Linked DNA regions of Homo sapiens: regions 1, 3 and 4 are each linked to region 2. Evidence: promoter capture Hi-C in 16 types of primary human blood cells and fetal thymus (Javierre and others, 2016). All regions are on one chromosome and are shown on one strand. Each heading gives the region's core, a stretch centred on a gene start or on the middle of the fragment in contact. The rest is flanking DNA. Distances are from core to core; before and after follow the strand shown. Region 1 holds the start of CCDC112 (coiled-coil domain containing 112). Region 2 holds the start of DCP2 (decapping mRNA 2). Region 3 holds the start of PGGT1B (protein geranylgeranyltransferase type I subunit beta). Region 4 holds the start of ATG12 (autophagy related 12).

What was found. Contacts are between HindIII fragments. The CHiCAGO score rates a contact against its expected background, and 5 or more counts as called.
Region 1: the fragment with the promoter of CCDC112 here is called in contact with the fragment with the promoter of DCP2 in region 2 in 2 of 17 cell types (fetal thymus and M0 macrophages); the score reaches 9.3 in fetal thymus.
Region 3: the fragment with the promoter of PGGT1B here is called in contact with the fragment with the promoter of DCP2 in region 2 in 5 of 17 cell types (total CD4 T cells, total B cells, activated CD4 T cells and 2 more); the score reaches 8.1 in total CD4 T cells.
Region 4: a contact is called between the fragment with the promoter of ATG12 here and the fragment with the promoter of DCP2 in region 2, in 3 of 17 cell types (neutrophils, total B cells and total CD4 T cells). The highest score is 10.5, in neutrophils.

What each region holds. Positions count from the first base shown.
Region 1 is chr5:115,295,373-115,298,072 of GRCh38, reverse strand. CCDC112 (coiled-coil domain containing 112) reads left to right here and starts at 1,419. Exons shown (of 10, transcript NM_001040440.3): 1 at 1,419-1,646. The coding sequence starts at 1,530. It overlaps LOC105379129 (a long non-coding RNA gene), which reads right to left and starts at 1,145. Exons shown (of 5, transcript XR_948684.3): 1 at 725-1,145. RefSeq lists a silencer at 1,321-1,770. The HindIII fragment of the contact is 8,729 bases long and covers 1-2,700 here.
Region 2 is chr5:112,975,387-112,978,086 of GRCh38, reverse strand. It overlaps DCP2 (decapping mRNA 2), which reads right to left and starts at 1,289. Exons shown (of 11, transcript NM_152624.6): 1 at 1,101-1,289. The coding sequence starts at 1,153. RefSeq lists enhancers at 839-948, 1,059-1,108, 1,119-1,208, 1,279-1,328, 864-1,623 and 2 more. The HindIII fragment of the contact is 6,686 bases long and covers 1-2,700 here.
Region 3 is chr5:115,261,586-115,264,285 of GRCh38, reverse strand. It overlaps PGGT1B (protein geranylgeranyltransferase type I subunit beta), which reads left to right and starts at 1,409. Exons shown (of 9, transcript NM_005023.4): 1 at 1,409-1,574. The coding sequence starts at 1,435. RefSeq lists enhancers at 1,291-1,340, 1,371-1,550. The HindIII fragment of the contact is 10,345 bases long and covers 1-2,700 here.
Region 4 is chr5:115,840,315-115,843,014 of GRCh38, reverse strand. It overlaps ATG12 (autophagy related 12), which reads left to right and starts at 1,450. Exons shown (of 4, transcript NM_004707.4): 1 at 1,450-1,625. The coding sequence starts at 1,463. It overlaps AP3S1 (adaptor related protein complex 3 subunit sigma 1), which reads right to left and starts at 1,080. Exons shown (of 6, transcript NM_001284.4): 1 at 909-1,080. The coding sequence starts at 977. RefSeq lists enhancers at 234-443, 1,434-1,483, 1,494-1,793, 1,182-2,083, 2,087-2,587 and silencers at 534-723, 824-1,203. The HindIII fragment of the contact is 16,491 bases long and covers 1-2,700 here.

The DNA of each region.
Region 1 (2,700 bases), core at 170-2,669, 2.3 Mb before region 2:
ACCATGTTGGCCAGGATGGTCTCCATCTCCTGACCTCGTGATCCGCCCACCTCGGCCTCCCAAAGTGCTGGGATTACAGGCGTAAGCCACCACGTCCGGCCTCTTCTGCAAAAACTTCCCTCCACAGACTTCCGGTTTTCCTCCCTTCTCACAGATCTCTCCATATTGGTCCCCTTCTCCTCTTGTCCGTGGTCACCTTCTCGGAGTGGCCTAGGCTTAGTTCTCAGACTTCAATTTATACTCACCCTGGGTGAGCTCATTCAGTCTTATTTCAAATATTTTCTATAGGAAGATCAAATTCGTATCTTTAGCTCTCTCTCTCCTGGGCTCCAGAGGCGTTTATCCCGCTGCCTGTTTAATACCTCTACCAGGATGGTCTCTGGAGTCAGGCTGTCTAGATAGGTATCCTACCCTCTACCTGTGTGGCCATGTGATCCTTAACTTTATCACTGAAATGGAGATGATAATAGTACCTACTTCATGAAGTTATTTGTGAAGATTAAATGCAAAAGTGCATATAAAGCACTTATAACAGCCCTGGCATAAAGGAATTGCTCAATAAATACCTATTTGTTTACTTGTTAAAGGTGAAGGAACCTTACCTATGTGTCTAATTCAACAATGAATTCCCAAGGCCTAGAACAGTGCCTGACATATGCTAGGAGCTCCATATTGACTGACTGAATGAATCGATTTCTATAAAGGGGGAAAAGGTAGTACCTACAGAAATCAGCTCAGTTGCCACAGGTTGTCTTGACTGGAAGCGTCATCTGTGGCTTTTTTCCAACTTCCCAGCACTGTATTTTTGGAATCTGTCTTCTCATTGACCAAGTCCTAGGAATGTAACTGTGGCATTCCTGCCTCTGATATCTGGTTCTGTGGAGCAAGCTGGGTTTTTTTCTTTAAAAATCTAAAATATGATTTATTGTTAGAATCCATTGATAATGTTTTTTCATTTAGACTCAGTCTCAGCAGCGCTAAGTAGAAACCTAGAAAGCGGATGTATATTAGGTAAAAATATGTATATATTGACTATAACACGAATAAAATTTAAGGACGATGTAAGACAATGAATTTTCTTGACAGGTATGGGACTGGGCTGGCACAGTCGGTTAAGTGCCCAAAGGGTATATAAACCCGCGACAGGGCAGAGCGCAGCCCCCGCCCCGCCCCGCCCCGCCCCCACACCCGCCCGCCCCAGAACCCCAGACCCGCCCCTCCCCTGCATCCCGGCTCCGCCCGGCACCTTGCCCCTCCCTCGCCCCGCCCCTCCCCGCCTGAATCCCGGCCCCCGCCTCGCATTTCGGCCCCGCCCTGCACCCCAGTCCCGCCCCTCCCGCACCCCCGCACCCCTGCACCCCCGCATCTCAGCCCCGCCCTGCATCCCGACCCCGCCCTACATCTCGGCCCCGCCCTGCATCCCGGCCAAGCCCGCAGCGCAGGGAGCTGTCTGCAGAGGCCAGGGTGCGCCTGCCACGAATCCCCAGGCACCGGTGGCCGCCGCGGCCCGAGTAGCTCGGCGGGTAAACATGGCCGCACTGACGACGGTTGTGGTAGCGGCTGCGGCCACCGCGGTAGCCGGGGCTGTGGCAGGGGCGGGCGCGGCCACCGGGACCGGCGTGGGAGCGACGCCAGCGCCTCAACAGGTAAATCCGGGAGAACCGAGAGCTGCTCTGGCGGCAGGCGAGGGGCTGCAGGCCCTGGCTGAACAGGTGCCCTCTGCAGCGCCGGCGGGAGGCGCGGCGTTCGCCTCCCCTGCTCGGGGCCTGGCACGCGCTGGGCGTTGCTCTTTGTTGGCTTGTGCGTTTAACAGCTTTTGCAGAGCCGCCTCCATGTGGTTTCGGAGTCGAGGAAGACCTGGGTGGGAACCCGGCTCTGCCGCTTCCTAGCCGCGTGATAAGAACATATGCTGTCGGCGACTCACTTTCTTCTCTAAAAATTGGGAATAGTAACATGCACCTCCCGAGCTTTGGACTAACGTTATGTCTGGGGAGCCCCTGGCACAGTGCTTGATTGGAGGGGGACTCTGTGCTCAGTAATTGGTGGCAGCTCTGTTACTGTACCGGCGCTGGGAACACAAGGAGAAAGACAATATGGGATGGTCGGAGGCAGAGGTGTTTCCAGTGATCGGCTTAGGACCGCTTTCTAGGTGGTGAGGACAAGGTATCTTTGTTCAGATGTTATCAGCTCAGCGAGACTTTCCATGATCTCCCTAAAATGAATCGCCTTACGCGGCACACCCAGTCCCTGTTTCTGGTTTTATTTTTCCCCATAGCACTTAGTACCATATATTATATTACATACTTTATTTCTATTGTTTATGTTTCTCCTCACACCCCTCACCCTCCCTCGCACCCCCATGAGAATGTAAGCTCCATGAGGGCAGAAAGTATTGGAAATTTTATTCTTTATTGTATTCCCAGCACCAAGAACTATGCCTGTTGTGTAGTGCCTGGAACGTAGTATGCACTTACTAAATAATTTGTGGATCAATATAAACCTGAAGGAAGGCTGTCATGAGCTGAGGAGAGGTTCCATCTTTTTCCTCCTTTAAGGAAATACAGTGTCTTTACTCGTAGACCTTCAGGAAATTCCACCTACGGCAAATTTTCTCACACATCCTCTATAATTCTCTTTATTATTCTAACTCTGTCCCAAGTATCTCAGGAAAAAATGTAAAATATATAAATATACATAATA
Region 2 (2,700 bases), core at 40-2,539:
AGACTCGTTTGAATCCGGAAGGCAGAGGTTGCAGTGAGCCAAGACCGCACCACTGCACACCAGCCTGGGCAAAAGAAAGAGGCTCCGTCTCAAAAAATAAAAACAAAAAAACAAACAAACAAAAAAAACCCCAAAAAACTCCACAAACACCAGTTCTTTACTTTCCATTAAAAAAAACTGCATGAAGGAGATACAACTACTAAAAGCCTGCCTTTTAAAACATAAACACAGTAACTGTGAACGAAAAGGTGTTATCACTTGTAATCACAATCCACACACACTTGGCGACAACTCCGGGTATCACTGCACTCCAAATTTTACCTTCGGAAAATAAGCATTTTTAAGTATCCTACACGTGTTTGGCTATCTGAAATCAGAGTTGACAAGGGGGAAGAATGCAGAAAATTTCTCATCTGAAGTATACACCCTGAGTTAAAACCCCGCGGTTGAGAATTTCCTTTAAAATAGGATTATTAAGGATAAAAAGAAAAGCAGCGCTACACTTTTTCCCTCTCTCCCCCAAAGACAAGTCCAGGGATGAGAAAAAAAAAGTAATTCCTTACAGGAATTTACAGAGAACGCCACGGACAAATAACACGCAGGCGTCAGAATAAGTCCGAAAATTTGCTCCTTGCGCAGGTCCGCGTACCTGGGATCCTAAGCCTTAAATTACTACCCTGGGGGTCTTCCTTCAGAATCGGGGAATGAGACACAGGGAGGAGGGGGTGCACGGCGTGGAAAAGTCACAGAGGCAGAAAAAACAATGGGAGAGGGAGGCGGCGGCGGCGGCAAAACGCTAAGACCCAGGCTCCGGCGAAGCGGCTACGCCTGCGGGAAAGCAAAATAGTTGAGTAACTTAAAAAATGAGGAAATTCCGGGTGTTCTGCGGGGAAGGACGGAGGGCCTTGAGAAACAGGGAGGCTGCGGCGGAAAGAGGGGCGGTGTCGTCGGAGAGCAGGGTCGACGATGGAAAGCGAGCAGCGGCGGGAGCGGAAAGCGAGGACATGGACGTGGGCGGGGAAGAAGACCCAGAGGCCTCTGGGGGTCCGCGAAACTGAGAAAACCCGACGGGGGCGAAAGGGGGTCGGGTAGCGCGGTACCTGCAGAGATCGTCCAGGACGCTGCCGGGAATCTCCACCCGTTTGGTCTCCATGATGAGGACCCACAGCAGGAACAGTGCATCCCGGCTCCGCGCGGCCGGGGACTGACGGTACGGCACTAGGACTCCGGCTCGCCGGAGAGCTGGCAGCCGAGGAAGCCGCGGCAGAGACGACTCCAACGGAGACGAGAAGGGGAAGGGGCGGGACCCGCTCACTTCCGTCCCGCTCCCTCAGCCTTGGACCCCAAGACTGGGCCAAGGCTCGGGGCGGAGCCCCCGGAGTCACGCCCCTGCTCGCTTGAAAGGCCCAATGGGAAGCTGAAGAATTGGGACTCTAAGCACTCTAAGCCAATGAGACGTTTGTTTATTGGTCTGCTACTTCCAATCCGTCTTCAAGCTGCTCAGTTGCTACTCAGAAAACCAACTTCCCGCCGCCTTTGAGGTGGCTACACGCATGCGCACCATGCCTCCTGCGCGCTTCTGGGAAGTTCAGAGGGGTCGGGGCTTAGGTGTAGACCCCGGACACATATCCGGGACTTTGGCATGTTGTGCAGGACCTCGCGGTGACTGAGCTCTTTCCTCTGCAGGGCCGACCCTGAGAATCCGTACAACACAAGAGTATGCTCGCGATTCCTGTCACCAAGTATCTTGCACTTATCGCAGCCCCCACCAACTCCAGGCCAAGAGCTGTGCCTCTTTCACTACAAACCCTTGGAGAGGGTATCCATTTTGGAGGTGGCTCTCCTCTGTGCTTCCTTAGGCACCTGGTTCCAAACATGAAGACAAGGACTTTATCTCAGTATCTGGCACCTAGCAAAATCTTAGAAAATACTGATTTAAGCTGAACTCTGATCTGTATTCCACCCTCTGCACAAAGCAATCCCCACCTGCTCGTCCTTATTCATTCCTCGTCTTGCTTAATGGAGACCAATCCATTTGGGATCTTTGGAGAAACTAGATCCATCTGTTCTTTTTCCTCTTACATCAGACCCACAGGCCCACACACACCTGCTCCGTCACAAGTTTAGTCTGTTCTACCATTTAATCTCCCATCTTTTGTCTAAATTTGTCACATGCCACTGTGTACTTCAGTTTTGCATCATTTCTCCATACTACAGTGAGAGCTGCCTAACCACTGACTCTGCCTCCATTCTTGGCCTGTGCAACTGCCTACATTTTGTTTTGTTTTACTCAGATAGGAACAAGTTATCTTTTCAGTTTCTGCTGTATGATCAAGCCCAAGTTCCTTTGGCATAAGAGGCCCGTCACCATCTATTTTGCTCCCGTTTTCCATCTTTTTTTTCCCCTCTTTCTTGGAGAATTCCTCAAATTTATCTTCCTGACAACTACAGAGTTTTTACTTATTTAGAGTTCTGTTTTGTTCTTCAAATGCCCCTTTCTTGTGGTGTCACATTCTTGCTTTGTATATTTTATTTTATCCTTCTGAGGATATTAATAATAGATTTTGACGTTTTCTTCTCCCTGAGTAGTCTTATTCCTCTCAGCTGCTTTTTGCTATTATCTTGATCTCATCTATCCTATTAGAAGCCTCTGTAGTCCTTGACTATTCACTCACACTTAAGAGTAAGGCCTTAACCTGG
Region 3 (2,700 bases), core at 160-2,659, 2.3 Mb before region 2:
TCTGTATTATCTCTGAATGAGTCCCACATTGCAAATTTTTCCTCTAGATTTGGATCAGATTGCTAGTCCTTGAGCTGAGAATCAGATGAAACATTTGGCTTCCCTAACTTAAGGGCCATGTTTATTAGAATTAATTTTCTGAGAATGTATAGAGTGTCCATAGCTGATTCCAGTAAGTTAAATGTGTATAAGACTCCACTTTAAAAATCTTCAGGCATTTGGGGGTATGTGTGCTAAGTGAGAGATCTTAATTTTAATAACAGTGGAAACTCCAGACTGGGCACACCTGAAGGGCAAGGACTGTGAGCTCCGTATTTGTAGGGAAGTACCGAGGACAGCCTAGAATCCGTCTGTGGCTGTTAAATGCGGCATTTTGTAAAGACATGCAGGAATACCTGTGAATAAGTAGTTAATAGTACCAAAAATTATTCAGAGCACTTTGGATTGTTGAATAAGTGTAAGATTACCCCAGCCCATAGAGTATAAGAATTACATTTTCTAAGAAAGCTAACAAAATTAAACCCAAAATTTTATTAGCTAAGTTGATCACAGGGAACCTAGTTTAGTTATATTATTGGGTGGATCCCCCCACCCGCTACTCAGGAATGCCTCATGAAAGTTTAAAGGGCATAGTATACCGGCTAAACAACTTAAATCCCTATTTTTGGAAAAAAGAACTAGAAGCATGTTTAAATTTTTTAGAATGCAGGTAATTGGAGAAGATATTGAGCTTATTTTGCTGTTGCAGATTGATGCACCATTGATTCTTGATAACACGTCGACTCAAGCAAAGTAAAATCTGTAAGATTTGTAAAAGAATGACGCAAGCAGTCATATATAGGTATGAATATGCATGTTGTATATGTTTGGGGGCATTATACACAGATTTTTAAGTGATTCCTGGTATCCAGAAAGGATTAAGATTAGGAAAGTCTCTGAGCTTTTGTAGTGTCAATAAACATTTATCTCCACTGGTTTGTTTTTCTGTTTCCCTAACCGTTCGGCTTAAAACTGGCCCTCCAAAAATGAATCTGTTAGCAAGTTTATACTGATCCATCCTCGTTTTCAGATATACCATCCTCAGGTTCTACAGAGCCAGAATTGTCTCAAAGCGTACTTGATGCTTTTGACCTTGCGCTTCCCAAGATAAAAATTCTGACGGAGGGATTTGTGGACTTGATTTTCACAAGGCCTGCGAGGTGTTTACAAGCCTCGAGGGCTTTGAGTAGAAAAGGTAGGGTCATGCGCTAGCTAGGGAGATATCGGAGAGAGGAAGTGCTGCACAGGACCCAGATGATAGCGGTTTCAAATACTGGCTTAGTCTGCGGCGGGCGCAGGTCCCCTCACCCGGCACCCTGTGGTTCAGCACAGGAGGGTTCTTTCTCTCCGCGGGCACTGATTCCGGGTCGCGGCGGACGTCGCTTCCGGAGCAGCATGGCGGCCACTGAGGATGAGAGGCTAGCAGGGAGCGGTGAGGGAGAGCGGCTGGATTTCTTACGGGATCGGCACGTGCGATTTTTCCAGCGCTGCCTCCAGGTTTTGCCGGAGCGCTATTCTTCACTCGAGACAAGCAGGTAACTCGTGGCACAGTCAGCCAGGCTGGCACAAGGCCCGGGCTCCAGCGGAAAGGCGCGGCGGAGTCGGACCGCAAACTGGGCGCCGGAAGGGGGCTGCGCGGCCGCCCAGTTGGCACTGACTGGTTTCAAGTGGGCTTGAGGTTACCCCCACTCTCCCGCCGTACGGTGGGAAGGTCTGGAAGGCTGTAGGTCGAGGGCTGTGGCATCTCCAGTTTCCGGCTTTTTCACTTCCCTTTTCTTCTGGCAACTCTGAGCTGCTTTTTTACCCGCTCCCATAGCCTGTCACTTTGCCTCATTACTTCCGAGTGTAAAAGGAAAAGGACAAAGTTTGTCGTCGTATTTTTAGATGAATACTTCTGTGCATCCTTGTCCTCTCTAAAGTCATTAACTCTTAATAGAGTGTCTGTATGGTGTTTTATGTGTAGGAGCGGCAGAGAACCTCTAAGGTCTTAGAAACTTTGTGGGAACTATAAATCTAATGGTAGGCGAAAGAGGTGTGGTGTTGCGTGAAGCAGCCTGTTAAAAGTATCGCAATAGCTGAAGAGTGTGGTGCGGCAGAGACTAAGCGACTTCATTTACAGTAAAAGCTGGGGATGAGAAGAAAGAAAGGAGAAGGCAATCTTTGCTCCGCATTGCTGTGTTTTGAAGTGAAGCTCAAAAGCTGCTTGAGACTGGATGGGAGGAAAGAGCGGCTTGTTTTTGCTGTGTTCTTTCCCCACGTTTTCCAAATTCTGAGTTGCTGGTGTATTTTGAACACTGCATGACCGGATCAGTTTGGGGAGCTTTGCAGATTACTTCTGCACACTTGGTCAAGAACCACATTATGGTAGGTGCCAGAGTACAGCTGAACAAGACAAGCATTTGTATAGAGTTCTGTGCTATATGTTAGTGTAGTGTTCATAGGAGTATATAGACAGGCATGTACATAATCCAGATATCTTTAGAGAGGCCTTCCTTAAACACCCTTCCTAAAGGGACCACTTCCAATGACCACCTCACATTACGTATGTATTGGTTTATTTGTTTAATGTCTTTCTATTACACTGGATTATAAACTTCACAAAGGTAACATTTTCGTCTATCTTGTTTACCTCTATACTTAGGACTGGGCTGCCCTGTCCAA
Region 4 (2,700 bases), core at 201-2,700, 2.9 Mb before region 2:
ATACTAAACAGTATTTACACGTTAAAAGAGAAGTTCTACAAATGCTACTATTCTTCATAAATAGAAAAAAACTATAAATGAGGGCAAATTCCCATACGTGGAAAAATGCCAAACCAGAAGCTGAAATCATAACTTTTAGGTATAGAACCACAGCTCCAATCAGTCAACTACAAACGTCGCCGGTTACTTCGAGGGTAAATAATTTGCAGCCAGCTGGTAAAAAGCCTGATAAAAATATTAGGTCCTCACATATCTTCCTTTTCAATAAGGAGACACCTGAAAGTCACACTGGGCAGTCTGTCACGTATCGAAACATGCAGAAGAGAGACTGTACAGAACGTGCAGTTATCAAACGCAGGAAGCCAAAGTTCCTGTGCTATGAGAGGACCACAGTGAAAAACGGTAGCCCATCTGTCCAAAGAACAGAAAGAAGTCCACCTGGAAAGGATGGGAGTCGGCGGAGGGGGGCGAGAAGAACGAGTTCCACGCCGTCTTCCTCCTCCCGGGCTAACTGCAGCCGCGGGCGGCAGGAAGGCAGCCGCGCGGGGTGGGCTCTTGGGGACTGGGCGCAGGGCTCCGCGGCGCGGCTGGGCTGCGGCTGCCCGATCGGCGAGGGCCGGGCCCCGGGAAGTCTCCAGGGCCTCGCCCGCGCAGCCAGGAAAGCATGCAGCCCACCGACGGGCGGAGGAACCGCCCGGGCAAAGCCACGTCGGTGGCTGACCGCGCGGCAGGGAGGTGGGCACCCTGTCCACACCCACCAGGAGGCTGACAGCTGGCGAGCGCCAGGCGGCCGGGACGGGACAAGGGCCGCAGCGCGCCGGAGGGGGTCGCTCTGAGAAAGCCGCGCTGGGCGCTGCCCGTCGCCAACGACTCCCCCTCGCCCGGATCAGCGGCGGCTGGATACTCACGTAGGGCTGGTAGAACTTGGAGAGCCGCGGCTTCCCGTGGTTGTTGAAGATTAGGATCGCCTTGATCATGGCTGTGCCGGGCCGACCGGGTGGGCACTGGGGGCCAGGGCGGGGGCGGGCGCGCGAGCCTCGCCTCGTAATCTCGCCTGCGATCCTTCCCCACCCGCCCCCTCCCGCACGCGACCGCGCGCGCTCCCGAGCCGTCGGGCGGGGCCCAAGGGGCGGGGCCTGGGCGGGGCAGGCACTAAGGAAAGCGGAAACATTTCTAGGTCCGAGCCAGCGGCCTAACTGGAGTGTGCGCATTCGACCGAGCACAGACACGTTGCCCACCGCTCCTCTCCCGAGGTCTGTAGTCGCGGAGAAACACATGTTGCGTTACTAACGTTCAGAGGTCTGCGACAGCTTCGATTTGAATGACTAGCCGGGAACACCAAGTTTCACTGTGTAATTGCGTCCCCCTACTCCGGCGCCTCCTTTGCGACGCTCCCTGGAGAAAAGCACGCCCACTGCACGCGCTCAGTCGCTACTTCCGCTCTCGAGTGTCTCCAAGCAAGATGGCGGAGGAGCCGCAGTCTGTGTTGCAGCTTCCTACTTCAATTGCTGCTGGAGGGGAAGGACTTACGGATGTCTCCCCAGAAACAACCACCCCGGAGCCCCCGTCTTCCGCTGCAGTTTCCCCGGGAACAGAGGAACCTGCTGGCGACACCAAGAAAAAAAGTAACTGAATTTATTTCCGGGCAGAGAGGCGGGAGGTTCAGATTGCATCCGAGTAGGGGTGGCGGCCAGTAAAGAAGCAAAATTTAGAGGAGCGCCTGTCCTAGACCTGCATTTTGACCAGTCATCAGAAGAAAAGAAGTGTACTTTTTGATTTTTAAGGCCTTTAAGTTGAGTGTTAAAATACCATCTCTGTCTATCGGTGTAGGGCCTGATACTTGGCTGCCACACTTATTTTTATACTGTATTTTTTTGAGTTGGCCAGACTGCGAGCTCTTTGAAGGAGGGAGGGAGCTGAGTGGGGCGGGGGGAGGGGGGTCTCGGTAATTCCAGGTACTTAACACAGGAGCTAATTATTTGAGTAATGTTTTATGGTGGTAGGGGTGGTCATTGGCAAAGCCTGGATTAGAATTCATGCCTTCCAACTTAACTCGCTTTTGCTTTTTTCCCCCTCCCAGTTGGTTGTGAATTCACTCCTTAAACCAAAAACCAAATTCTTATGCAGAATGAAGACTGCTAAGGGAAAGCTAAAGGCATAGATGTTACCTTTTTAAGAAACACATTTTGGAACCTTTGTGAGTTATTTCATTGCTTGAGTCAGCTATCCTCAACCCTTTATTGCTTGAGAATGTTTCCCTTTGTAAAAGAGATTGCTAAAATTACGTGTTCTAAAGCACTCTGTTTAGAGTTAGAGTTGCCTATGGGAAAAGCAGCATATAAGCATCCTCGATTCAGAGAGGCTGATTTCGTCCTTAGACGTTTTCCCCGTTCTGTCTTAAGATGACAGTGGTCTCTGGCCGGGCGCGGTGGCTCACTCCTGTAATCCCAGCACTTTGGTAGGCTGAGGCGGGTGGATCACCTGAGGTCAAGAGTTCGAGACCAGCCTGGCCAACATGGTAAGACTCCATCTCTACTAAAAATATAAAAGTTAGATGGGTGTGGTGGCGCGCGCCTGTAATCCCAGCTACTCGGGAGGCTGAGGCAGGAGAATCGCTTGAACCCGCGAGGCGGAGGTGGCAGTGGGCGGAGGTCTCGCCATTGCACTCCAGCCTGGACAACAAGAGCGAAACTCCGCCTC